Regions from separate parts of the Homo sapiens genome. Here region 2 is linked to region 1. Evidence: promoter capture Hi-C in human tissues and cell types (Jung and others, 2019). All regions are on one chromosome and are shown on one strand. Each heading gives the region's core, a stretch centred on a gene start or on the middle of the fragment in contact. The rest is flanking DNA. Distances are from core to core; before and after follow the strand shown. Region 1 holds the start of THSD1 (thrombospondin type 1 domain containing 1). Region 2 holds the start of HNRNPA1L2 (heterogeneous nuclear ribonucleoprotein A1 like 2).

Region 1 (7,014 bases), core at 4,194-6,693:
ACGACAATACCTACTTTTTTTATCAGTGGCTTGTGCACTCAACCTCTATGCTCTTTTTTTATGCTCATTCAACTTTCATTTTCATATTCCAGTAAGAAATTTTGCTATTAACAACAAACACCCTTGTATAATTTGTTTAAATGGAGAATTTCGATGCTTTATTTATCATTATGAAACCAAGAACACATACTTTTTTGTAGAAGGCTGTTACATGTAGAGTAATCTGTGTTTTTTTGTTTTTGTTTTTTTGTTTGTTTGTTTTTGAGACGGACTTTTGCTCTTGTTGCCCAGGCTGGAGTGCAGTGGCATGATCTCGGCTCACCACAACCTCCGCCTCCCGGGTTCAAGTGATTCTCCTGCCTCAGCCTCCCAAGTAGCTGAGATTACAAGTGCGTCTCACCACATCCAGCTAATTTTTGTATTTTTAGTAGAAACGGGGTTTCACCATGTTGGCCAGGATGGTCTCAATCTCTTGACCTCGTGATCTGCCCGCCTCGGCTTCCCAAAGTGCTGGGATTACAGGCGTGAGCCACTGCATCCAGCCAGAGTAATCGGTTTTTAAGAAGGGATAAATTACTTTTTTTTTTTTGAGACAGAGTCTCGCTCTGTCACCCAGGCTAGAGTGCAGTGGTGCGATCTCGGCTCACTGCAAGCTCTGCCTCCCGGGTTCACGCCATTCCCTGCCTTAGCCTTCCGGGTAGCTGGGACTACAGGCACCTGCCACCACATCCGGCTAATTTTTTTGTATTTTTAGTAGAGATGGGGTTTCACTATGTTAGCCAGGATGGTCTTGGTCTCCTGACCTGGTGATCCGCCCACCCCGGCCTCCCAAAGTGCTGGGATTACAGGCATGAGCCACCGCGCCCGGCCAAATTACTTTAAAATAAATGAATCCCACACTGGCTTTCCTTAAATCCGGTGTCTTCTTGTATAAATAAACTTCTTAAAAAAGAAAAGACTGAGAAAGGAGGTCTACTGAATGAAATGAACAGCACAGGCTCTGGTCCATTTAACCAGCTATGCCATTCACATTACACAAGCCAGTGTCCTCTATATCTTGGATCACAATTTCTTTACCAAATTCAAAAACAACTTCCACTGCCATGCAATCAACTGCTTAGATGTCTATGAAATATTTGGAAATCATCAAAAGTAGTGAAGATTATATCATATTGTTGACTCTATTGTTCAGTAGTTGTATAAAGCTCTCTGAGAAATGAACTCAATTTTTAGGTGAAACGAATGACGAGAACAGACTTTAAGCACCTACTATTTGCTCATTCAGGGTGTTTTGCACTCTTGATATTATCATAACAACCCTGTAAAGTCAATATTATTGCTGAGATTGAAAGAGATTAAGAAACTTTTCTAAGAGCACGCAACTTTCAAGGATTGAAATTCAGATTGGGTCCAAATGTATGTTAGCACCAAAACTCGGTCAAGTGAAATCTTATGTAGAACCCTAATATACACAACATCATTGCATGTGTGTATGAAGTGATTTATCACACTTAATTACTGGGAAATCAAAGAGAACTCAAGGTAACATGCTTGCCTCCAATTTGTTAAAATTTGAGAGAGTTGGTTTTTTTATTTTTTTAAGAGTTAAAAATATAAAATGAAATACGAATCAATCATGCAGAATCACTGAAGCATAAGAGAACCCAGGGTTGCAAGGGTCACAGTTGAGAAAGCACTGCACTATATACCCTACCCTGCCTCCTTCAGGAAGAGTCATCAACATCAATGCATTTATAATGTCATCTTTATGTCTTATTGCTACCAGTAGCGTTAAGTATACTCACAATACTCACCATAGTCACAGAGTACCACCAACAATAGATTTGAAAAGTCTTTCAACATTGGTTTCATTCTGATTGACAAAATCCCAGGTCTTTAGTCTCCTCATGTCCTTTCTCACGTCCAGATTGTGATTTTTTTCCCCAAAAACACCTGAAATTAGAACCTCAAAAAATGATGGCTCCGTTCAATGTGATTGATAAAATAGTAATCATTAAATGACAAAACCATTCTAAAACTCAAACTTTCTAAGTGATATTGAAAGGAAACTAGAGAGGACACTAATTTTCCCTGGGGCAATGACTTATAATTATACAAGCCTTTTTCATTCCATTATAACTCACAGGTCAAGAATATGCAGGTATGCCCAACACCCACTAAAATTATCTTTGCACAACACCAAAGTCTCTTCTCTTTACAGCACATCCTGACGTGGAGAGTTTATTGTTATTTGCTTAATTTTATCAAAGTTAATAGCCAATTTGGATACATTTTCACATTATTTATCTGCTTGGCATTTCACACTGATCAATTTACTAAATTTCTGCTAAACTTTAATTTAGCATTGTGCTGTGTATACCCAAATGCTCCCTGCCTGGCGTCCACAAATGGGCTAACATTTCCTTGCACAATTGGTGTGTTACCAGGATTGCTTCATTTATCAATTCCTAGGAGCTACATCCAAGTGATCAAAGCTTTTTTAAAAAAAAGATACCCCAGAATACTACAATTAAATATGAACTCCATGTGGCCCTGACTTCCCTTGTTTAGGGCAGCCTAAGGAGAAAACAGACAAATAACAATCATCTTCATCAGTCCTGCAATACTTGTTGCTGCTGGTATGCATCACGAGATCGGTGGTTCACACAGCAATCTTCCCAGTCTACCTAAGAGGGCAGGGAAGACCTTGCTGGCCTGTGGTTCAGTTATTTGTTGGAAGAAGCACTTATTTTATTTTATTTATTTATTTAGAGATGGAGTCTCACTCTGTCGCCTAGGCTGGAGTACAGTGGCGAGATCTCGGCTCACTGCAAGCTCCGCTTCCCGGGTTCACGCCATTCTCCTGCCTCAGCCTCCCGAGTAGCTGGGACTACAGGCGCCCACCACCATGCCCAGCTAATTTTTGGTATTTTTAGTAGAAACGGGGTTTCATTGTGTTAGGCAGGATCTCGATCTCCTGACCTCGTGATCTGCCCATCTCAGCCTCCCAAAGTGCTGGGATTACAGGCGTAAGCCACCGCACCCGGCTGGAAAAGGCACTTATTTTTATATAGACTATTCAACTATAGAATAAGATACTGGGCATTTAAGACAGTTCTTTCATACTAGAGTCTAGCAAACTATGTATTAATATTAAATATAACCAAATATGTACTTTCTTAATGTTTAAGGTCCCCCCCATTATTCACATTTTTTTTTTTTTTTTTTTTTTTTTTTTAGACAGAGTCTTGCTCTGTCACCTAGCCTGGAGTGCAGTGGCATGATCTTGGCTCACTGCAACCTCCACCTCCCAGGTTCAAGTGATTGTCCCACCTCAGGCTTCTGAGTAGCGGGGATTATAGGTGTGCACCACCACGCTTGGCTAATTTTTGTATTTTTAGTAGAAACGGTGTTTCACCACTTTGGCCAGGCTGGTCTCAGATGTCTGGCCTCGTGATCTGCCCACCATGGCCTCCCAAAGTGCTGGGATTACAGGCGTGAGCCACCACACCCAGCCCACAGTTAATCATTTTAATAAGCAAGTATATTATATTCCAAATACATGTTACATCTTTTCAGATAAGAGCACAAATTAGTGGAATTAAGAAGACTGATTGAAATAAGCCAGAATTCAATGGAAGGGAAACTGGTGTGTCTTATTAGCTTTCTTTCAGCAAGAGCTGCTGAACAAAGGAAATACTGTACTTCCTGAAAGGGAAACAGAGATTTGAAGTGTAACTATGCAGATTAGGGCTCCTTCCTCTTCCCCGCCACCCCCACCCAAAAAAAAGAAAAGAAAGGAAAGAAGAAGAAAATTGTTTTGGGTGGAATTAGCCACAGACTTGACCCAATTCTTTCCTCGAACATGGACTGGGAAACCTGGGCAAAGTCAGCCAGTAAGATCCTTGCAGAACACATCACATCACTTGGGCAAGTGTGAGCACTTAAGACAATTACAATGCTTCTTTTAAGTCACTGAGACCTGGTAACCAAACTAAGAAGAAGCAAGCTCCCAAAAGTTGAACTGGCTTCTCTCAGATTTGTTTGCTTCCACGACAATAACATTTTTATTTTTGAAGCCCCAAATCATTACTGATTTAGTGATTATAACACATTTTCTTTCTTATGAAAATGATCGGTAAAACATAGAATGGTGAGACAATCTATATTTAGAGCTGAATGGAAAAAGACTTATAAAACAGACCAGCCTACTTGTCAATCATAATATGGAATATGATCATAACATTAGTCATAATATGTCTCTTTAATTTCTTTCTACCTTGCTTATTTTCTTTCAACATGTTGTTCTCAATACCTCGACTGACTTCTTACAATGTTTGCATTGAGAATTGTTCTAAGAAATTAAGAACTTAGATATATTTTATACACATTTGAAAATACTTCTACCTAGCATTCTTGTATGTAAACTTTAGAGACAAATTCTAAATGCATCAGCTGAGAAGGTGGGGAAAAGTTGTGAATATTCTCAATGGCTAACAGCATCACCCAACCTGAGACCCCATGTTTTTGCTGAAACCAGCTAGGACAAACGCTTCTAAATCTCCCTTCATAGCTGCAGAAAAAGTAAATGAATTACACTAATGTCCATGGGACCAATGATTCGTGAAAGAATAAAATGGAAAACGAAGCAGTTATTTTGTCCCTTCTGACCAACATGCACATGCTTGTGTGTATATATACCAATAGTATTTATTGGGAGGAAATCTCTAGTTCTAAAGCAGCTCGTGTAAACAGGCTTCATTTATCTGTTCATTCGAGTTTGCTCTGCCCTGGTCCCACAGGTTGGGTGCAGCGTTCCTGGGACGCCCTGGCTCGCCCCATCTACTCAGCTTCCCAAATGCCCGCAAGCCCAGTTCACGCCTGGAAGTCTACCCCTCGCGTCGTCAGCTTAAAGCCCTCCTTAATGAGGACCGTCTTTAATTTAATTTAATCCTTGTATTTCATACTTTTTGTATATCAGAAAGGATTTCTTTTTGGAAAGAAACAGTAGCTCAAGACGCGATTTTTCAAGGTTCTGTGGCCAGTCTCAGTCACTCGGCAACATCTGAGCCAAGGCAGAGCCAGGTTCACTTAAATTCGGGACTCCGAAGTGTGGAGACCAATACCCCTTAAAAGCGTCCCCTGGGGCCGAGGCGGGTGTGGGGAGGGGCCGCCACCGTCCACCTGCGCCTTCAGGCTGCGGTGAGGTGGCAGAGTCCGGAGGCATTTCCCGACCCCAGAGGAGCCTCCAAGAGTCTCGCGGCACGGGCGCGAACACCAGGATGCGGAGGGCGCTTCTTACCTTTCGAGACTGACGGGCAGCAACCCCAGGCCGTCCGGGCGCGTGGCGAGGCGGACGGGAAGGCTCAGGGGCGGCGAGGTAGAGCGCCAAGCATCCCGCGTCCCAGACTGCACGCCCTGACCCCGCGGCGTTCGGCTCCCACAGCCCCGCGGGGCCCGCCCCCGACGGCGTGGGGAGGGCGGGCGCCGGGAGGGCGGGGGGCACACGGGACCGGGCGTGGTCGGTTCCCGCCCCTTCTGGGCAGCGCATCCTTTCCTGCCGGTCCCCAGCTCGCCAGCTGCTGGACAGGAAACAGGCAGGAAACGCGCGGCCAGCCAAGGTCCTGCGGGAGGGGGTGCGGCCCCGGCAGACGCAGGTCCCCTCAACACACACCCGCATCCACAGCACACAGCCGGACCAGGGGTTTAACGAAGGACGAGCGAGCAATCTCCTGACACTTCACATTCAATCACTTCTACTCTAGTGTCATTTTCTTCAGGGAGACCACAAAAATAAGTCCTTGAAGCGGCACAGCATGTGGGCTGTAAACTTGCTTTCCCAAATGTCACTGAAGAGTTTCAAAAGAACATAGTTCAGGTAAAGTGCATCTCCATTTTCTTTCCCTGGGGTCAGAATTGGTATTAAAAATAACTAAACATTTTAAAAACTCTACTCTGCAAGTGTTAAAGTTCTTTTTATAGGAATGTGAATTAGTTCAGCCACTGTGGAAAGCAGTTTGGAGATTTCTCAACTAAAAACAGAAAGATCATTCGACCCAGCAATCCCATTACTGGGTGTATGCCCAAAGGAAAATAAATCATTCTGCCAAAAAGACACCCGCACTATGTTTATCACAGTACTATTTACAATAGCAAAGACATGGAATCAACCTAGGTGCCCATCAACAGTAGACTGGGTAAAGAAAATGTGGTACATACACACCACGAAATACTAAACAGCCATAAAAAAAGAACAAAATCACGTCCTCTGTAGCAACATGGATGCAGTTGGAGGACATTATCCTAAGTGAATTAACATAGGAACAGAAAACCAAACACCGAATGTTCTCACTTATAAGTGGGAGCTTAAACAACGGGTACTCATGGACATAAAGATGGCAACAACAAACACTGGAGACTCCAAGTCAAGGGAGGGAGAGAAAGGGGCAAGGGCTGAAAAACATCCTATTGGGTACTGTGTCCGGAATTGGTGGGTTCTTGGTCTTTCTGACTTCAAGAATAAAGCTGCGGACCCTCGCGGTGAGTGTTACAGTTCTTAAAGGCGGCCTGTCCGGAGTTTGTTCCTTCTGATGTTCGGATGTGTTCAGAGTTTCTTCCTTCTGGTGGGTTCGTGGTCTCGCTGGTTCAGGAGTGAAGCTGCGGACCTTCGCCATGAGTGTTACAGCTTTTAAGGCGGCGCGTCTGGAGTTGTTCGTTCCTCCCAGTGTGTCCGTAGTCTCGCTGGCTTCAGAAGTGAAGCTGCAGACCTTCGCAGTGAGTGTTACAGCTCATAAAGGCAGTGTGGACCCAAAGAGTGAGCAGCAGCAAGATTTATTGCAAAGAGCCAAGGAACAAAGCTCCCACGCTTTGCAAGGGAACCCCAGCGGGTTGCCACTGCCGGCGCGTGCAGCCTGCTTTTATTCTCTTATCTGGCCCCACCCACATCCTGCTGATTGGTTCATTTTACAGAGAGCGGAGTGGTCTGTTTTGACAGGGCGCTGATTGGTGCATTTA
Region 2 (6,961 bases), core at 2,829-5,328, 240 kb after region 1:
AACCAAATCTTAAGGAGCTAAAGCTAACCTGCTTTATAAAATATATTAATTCCAGGACTAAGCAATTTCTGAAAACAGACTTATTTACTGTGCTGCTTAATATTTCCTCAAACTAGAATACAAGTGACGGTGGCAGAGGGAGGAAGTAACTCATACTAGGAAGAACAAATAGCTGCTGGAATATGCTTGTGGTTTAGAGCTTCTTTTAAAAATCCTGTCAGCTGCAAAGGAAAGGAAGGACTAATATTTTCCACGAGATCAGTAACATCTTTATGAAGATGCTCCTTTTGAATGTGGTACAGAAAGTTGGAAAACACTTAGGCATGGTATCTGGCATAGTGCCCCTTAGGGAGCACTTCACATGCAGACGGTCTGGGGCTTAGGATGGTTTGACTTAGAATTTTTTGACTTTATGATAGTTGCAAAGGCGATGCACATTCAGTAGAAAGTGAACTTTGAGTCCCCATAAAGCTATCCTGTTTTTCATGTTTAGGACATTGTTCCCATAAATTCATGAGCTATTCAACCCTTTATAATAAAAAAGAATTTGTGTTAGATGATTTTGCCCAAATGTAGGTTAATGTAAGTGTTCTGAGTACGTTTAAGGTAGGCTAGTCTAAGCTCTGATGCTCAGTAGGTTAGGTGTATTAAAGACGTTTTTACTTACGATATCTTCCCCTCCCAATAAACCCATTGTAAGTCAAGAAGCACCTGTAGAGGTCTGCCTTTACCAATTTCAGCTGCGACAAATTTAATGTTCCTGTATTGCTTTTAAATTGGAGAGCAGAAGCAGGTCTGAAACAAATACTGCAGTTAGCTTTGTGTTCTTCGCTATTTATTGAACAGTTCAGAGGGCAAGGAAGCAAAGAGAAGTGCTCTGAGTGTGTCTTTGCTTGCCAGCTCCTGAATTTTTAACAGTTCTACAGTGGCCTTCCTGTATTTTTCTCTCGTTTTGTGTGTTCTCTTCTGTTTTTGTTGACCCTGTCTCAAAAAAAAAAAAAAAAAAAAAATCAAAACTATCCCTTGGGAATACATAATGTTTGTATATGGAAACCCTCATGCCTTTCTTGCTACCTGTAGGATAAAGTCCAAAATCCTTAGCTTAACATTCAAATTTCTCCATCAAACTGGGTTCCTAGGCCAACTATTTCAGAGTTAATGTTGTTCTTGTTTTTTTTTTTTTTTTTTTGTTTTTTTTTTTTTGAGATAGTGTCTCGCTCTGTTACCCAGTCTAGAGTGCAATGGCACAATCTTGGCTCACTGCAACTGTCACCTCCCAGGGTTCAAGCAGTCCTCTCACTTGGCTCACTGCAACTGTCACCTCCCAGGGTTCAAGCAATCCTCTCACTTCAGCCTCCTGAGTTGCTGGGACCACAGGCCTGCACCATGCCTGGCTAATAGATGTGTGTATTTTTGTAGAAAGGGGTTTTCACCATGTTTTCCTGTCTGGTCTCCAACTCCTGGGCTCAAGGGATTCACCCCTCCTTGGCCTCCCAAAGTGGTGGGATTACAGGCGTGAGCCATTGCACCCAGCTGATGTTTTTCTTAAAATGCAAATTCTTTGGTTACACCCCATACCTACTGAATTTGTATCTCATGGGAAAGCTGTACAGTTTGTATTTTTAACTAGTATTGTTTATTTCTTGCTACTCAGAGTGGTCCCAAATTAGCATCTACATCACTGGAAACATTTTAGAAAAATAGAACTCCAGGCCCTGCTCCAGACCTAATGAATCAGAATAATATAGACATTCAAGTTAGAAAAGTACTAGGTAATCTTAATGTACACTTGGAAGTTTAAGAATAACTGATCTGGCCCCAACCTGTCATTTTAAGTTTGTCCCTCAATGTTGCTCTACATTTATTCATTCAACCAACATGTATTGGGTAAGGTATCAAGGATGTCTTCACATAGTCATGGAACTCTTAGTACAAAGTTGACAGAATATAATGTCTGCCCTCCAGAGACACACTGGGGTTAACCAGTGAAGTTGCTTACTGCTGCGGGTGACCAGCCAGTGGCTCTCACCGTCCATTTAGACTAAAGGGATCAGTATTTTGGGCACACCCATAACCATTCATAGTACCTTAGTTGGGGAGCTCTGCCTTATGTCCTGGTATTTCTTAAGATTCCTTTCTTGGCTCTCTTCCCACTGCACATGCTTCTTTGACAATCTCATTTACTTCCATGGCTCAGTCACATCTGATATCCACGTCCAATCAATCATGCAGCCCAGGTAATTTACCTCCTCAAAAGCTTTTAATTTGTCATTTGTCTTCATGTTTCTACCTTAGTTTAAGTTACCATCATTTCTTACAAGGAATATGCAAACTTCTGAACAGGGTTTACAAGGACCAGCATGATCTGTCCCGATATTACATCTTGACTCTCTGTAGCCCTAACATAATCTAGTCATCAACTCCTGAATAAGACATGGCTGTCAGTACTTGGCCTCTCCACACCAAATCATTGACTCAAGATTGTTTATTAAAGAAGGACCTGTGATGCTGTTGTCATTGTCCTTAACCTGTAAACTTGCTGCCTTCCTCACTTTCCATTTATTCTTTAACCCTCTGTAGTATTGCATTTGACTTATTACCCTGAATTTGTTGTTACAAAGGTCACTAAGAGTAACCAATTTCCATATTGCTGAATCCCATCCTTCCTTCTCTTCCTGGACCTCTTGATCAATTGATAACCTTTCATAACTCACTTTTCCTCTAAACTCTCTATTGCCTTCAGTTTTGCCCAATCTGAAGTGCCCAACTGTCCTATCCTGCTTCTGTAATATTTTCCCCCTTTTACCATGTAAAAAATAATTTCCTGATGTTCCCTTTGGGTTGCTCCAGAGACTTTTTCAAAGATTGGAGTTCTCCCAAGTTTTGTCTAAAGGTCACTGTTCTTATTCTCTGTTTTCAACTTGTCCGCTTCCAATCTGTTCTCCCCAGTGCAATAGGAGTGTCAGTCTAATTATGTCAAGCCTTCAGTGGTTTTTTAAATCTTTTCAGATGGAGTTGAGGCCCTATGTGGTCTCACCTCTTCTTTATCTCACCAGCCTTATGATCAAATTCTGCACTCCCAGACATAATAGCAATTAGAATAAGAATGTTTTCAATTGCAAGAAGCAAACAGAAAAACCCAACTCAAAATTATTAAATAATACAAAACAAAAAGTCAGGAGTTTGGAGGCTTCTGGGTTGGTTAACTCAGGAGCTCACTGGTATCACTGATGAACTAGGTTTCTCCATCCTTATGCTTTCACTTTCCTTGGGATATTGGTTTGGTCTTCCAGGATGGCTATTGCTAAAGGTAGCTGCAGTAATTTATTCTGTGTTTCTGTTTATCAATAAGGAGACCTTTCCCAGAATCCCTGAGCAGACACCTCATGCATGGCCCAATTGGCTAGATTAGTTATATACCCCTTCTTAAACCATATTGTTTGCCAATATGGCCAACAATGTGGGGTTGGTGATCCCAACAATGTGGGATGTGGGATTACCACAAATGACTTAGTCATGTGCTGGAGAAACAAAATTAGGGCTTCACAGCAAGGAAGAAGGGAGGAATGAAGTATCCTACTGTTATGTATACTTGTCTTTCTTCCTGTACATACACTAAAAAATGTTCAGGCCCATATGAAAAATGTATTTATTTCCCAAAGAGAATCAGCCAGAATCTCATCCAAATACTCTATCCAGCTTCATATCTAAGATCTCTGGTGGACTTTTTCTGCCCGTGGACGCCGCTGAAGAAGCATCGTTAAAGTCTCTCTTCACCTTGCCGTCATGTCTAAGTCAGCGTCTCCAAAAGAGCCCGAACAGCTGAGGAAGCTCTTCATTGGAGGGTTGAGCTTTGAAACAACTGATGAGAGCCTGAGGAGCCATTTTGAGCAATGGGGAACGCTCACAGACTGTGTGGTAATGAGAGATCCAAACACCAAGCGCTCCAGGGGCTTTGGGTTTGTCACATATGCCACTGTGGAGGAGGTGGATGCAGCTATGAATACAACGCCACACAAGGTGGATGGAAGAGTTGTGGAACCAAAGAGAGCTGTCTCCAGAGAAGATTCTCAAAGACCAGGTGCCCACTTAACTGTGAAAAAGATATTTGTTGGTGGCATTAAAGAAGACACTGAAGAACATCACCTAAGAGATTATTTTGAACAGTATGGAAAAATTGAAGTAATTGAAATCATGACTGACCGAGGCAGTGGCAAGAAAAGGGGCTTTGCCTTTGTAACCTTTGACGACCATGACTCCGTGGATAAGATTGTCATTCAGAAATACCATACTGTGAAGGGCCACAACTGTGAAGTTAGAAAAGCCCTGCCAAAGCAAGAGATGGCTAGTGCTTCATCCAGCCAAAGAGGTCGAAGGGGTTCTGGAAACTTTGGTGGTGGTCGTGGAGATGGTTTCGGTGGGAATGACAACTTTGGTCGTGGAGGAAACTTCAGTGGTCGTGGTGGCTTTGGTGGCAGCTGTGGTGGTGGTGGATATGGTGGCAGTGGGGATGGCTATAATGGATTTGGTAATGATGGAAGCAATTTTGGAGGTGGTGGAAGCTACAATGATTTTGGCAATTACAACAATCAGTCTTCAAATTTTGGACCCATGAAGGGAGGAAATTTTGGAGGCAGAAGCTCTGGCCCCTATGGCGGTGGAGGCCAATACTTTGCAAAACCACAAAACCAAGGTGGCTATGGCGTTTCCAGCAGCAGCAGTAGCTATGGCAGTGGCAGAAGATTTTAATTAGGAAACAAAGCTTAGCAGGAGAGGAGAGCCAGAGAAGTGACAGGGAAGCTACAGGTTACAACAGATTTGTGAACTCAGCCAAGCACAGTGGTGGCAGGGCCTAGCTGCTACAAAGAAGACATGTTTTAGACAAATACTCATGTGTATGGGCAAAAAACTCGAGGACTGTATTTGTGACTAATTGTATAACAGGTTATTTTAGTTTCTGTTCTGTGGAAAGTGTAAAGCATTCCAACAAAGTGTTTTAATGTAGATTTTTTTTTTTGCACCCATGCTGTTGATTGCTAAATGTAATAGTCTGATTGTGACGCTGAATAAATGTCTCTAAAAAAAAAAAAGATCTTTGGTGGAATCCGTAGGCTGCTTTTTCATCTGGTGGCTGTGGCTCTCTGGTGTTTTGTCCTCAACAGCCACATCTAATATGAGCACTGGGAAGAAGACTCTTTCTAAGGCTGCTCAGCTTTAGAGTACATTTCTTGATGGTGTGAGCTTGGTGTCCTGTCTCAGAGTCACTAGTTTCCCAGCCCGAAACAGTTGTGTCTCAATGCCCTCCATCCTGCCTTTTCCACCCGGCCAATTACACACCATTCTAGGTCTGTTTTGTAGCACTCCACTTCCAAATACCAAATTGTCTATCAGTTTGGATTCTTAGTCGTAAGCAACAGAGATGGATTCTGGTTTTCAGCATAAGATAAATTGTATTAGAAGAATATTGTGCTGCTTGCAGAATGGCCAAAAGGACTAGAGAATCAGCATCAGTCTGAGCCACACGGCTGGGAATAAATCCTGGAACCATACTGCATAACTGGTCGGGTGAGGAGATTGTAGCCACTGTTGCCAAGCACTGACACACTGCTTTGTAACACTATCTGCTGCTTTGGGAATTTGATCTTGACACATGTGCTACTGCATCTGGAGAGGATACACTAAGGTCCTTCCTTGATTTGTTGTTGCTAACCAGTTACCAATTTTAAAGTATGTGCAAGTTCAGCTTAAGTTGTTTGGCATTTTCAGCTTTTATAGAGGGAGACTGGCTCAGTGGGAAGACTCAAGGAATTCCCCAGACATAAGAAGGAGCTGAATTCTAAGTAACCCAAAAGAAAGACCTACTTAAGGACAAATCCAGGTTTTGTGGGGCCAAAATTTACACAATTTGTTGGGGTTGTGGGAGTGGGGAGGGGATTTATTTAGGAAAAATACGTACAAAATTATATTAACAAATTAGATAGGGTTTGAAGGGGCTTTTGCAAATAAACACCCCTGAAGCTGTACTTTCCAAATCACTCCGCTAGATCTGATTTCAAGCCCACTCTGCTCAGCACAGGTTATCTCATGCTGGTTACCTCCTATATGTTCTTCAGGCTTTGGCTGAGACATTACTTACTCTGAGCTTTCAAAATCTTCTGACTGCTTTCACAGAACCCCTTTAATCTCTCCCATTTAGACATATATGACACTATAATAACTGCCTGTTGATATGCGTGATTCCAACACTAGATTATTAAGCACCAAGATTGCAGTCATTTTAGTATCCCCAGTCCCTCGCATATCTATACATAGGAGGGATTCAATATTTATTAAGTGAGAAAACTACATATTCTCCTTGCCTTTTTTTTCTTTCTTTTTTGAGACAGGGTCTCGCTCTGTTGCCCAGGTTGGAGTGCAGTGGCATGATAACAGCTCACTGAACCTCGACCTGGGCTCAAGCAATCCTCCCACCTCAGCCTCAGTACACTCAGTGGACTACAGGCATGCACCACCACATCTGGCTAATGTATTTTGTAGAGAAAGTGTTTTACCATATTGCCCAGGCTGGTCTCGAGCTCCTGGGCTCAAGGGATGCTCCTGCTTTGGCATCCCAAAGTGATGGGATTACAAGTGTGAGCTACTGCGCCTGGCCTCCTTGTGCTCATGTTCTTATGTTGCTTACCACCATCCATATGCTGATGACTATCAATTCTTATCTATAGCTCTAAATGTGTTTTAAAAAAATAGCTTTAGGCCGGGCGCGGTGGCTCACGTCTGTAATCCCAGCACTTTGGGAGGCCAAGGCGGGCGGATCATGAGGTCAGGAGATCGAGACCATCCTGGTTAACAAGGTGAAACCCCATCTCTACTAAAAATACAAAAAATTAGCTGGGTGTGGTGGCGGGTGCCTATAGTCCCAGCTACTCAGGAGGCTGAGGCAGGAGAATGGTGTGAACCCGGG

What was found. The method cuts DNA at HindIII sites, captures the fragments that hold promoters and counts their contacts. A contact is called where the count stands out against the background at its distance.
Region 2: a contact is called between a fragment that was not itself captured here and the fragment with the promoter of THSD1 in region 1, in 1 of the 25 tissues and cell types used here (spleen).

Annotation. Positions count from the first base shown.
Region 1 is chr13:52,400,729-52,407,742 of GRCh38, forward strand. THSD1 (thrombospondin type 1 domain containing 1) reads right to left here and starts at 5,444. Exons shown (of 5, transcript NM_018676.4): 1 at 5,303-5,444; 2 at 1,815-1,953. The coding sequence starts at 1,872. RefSeq lists a silencer at 5,374-5,533. The HindIII fragment of the contact is 14,115 bases long and covers 316-7,014 here.
Region 2 is chr13:52,638,707-52,645,667 of GRCh38, forward strand. HNRNPA1L2 (heterogeneous nuclear ribonucleoprotein A1 like 2) reads left to right here and starts at 3,725. Exons shown (of 1, transcript NM_001389320.1): 1 at 3,725-5,067. The coding sequence starts at 3,787. The coding sequence ends at 4,749. The HindIII fragment of the contact is 6,422 bases long and covers 868-6,961 here.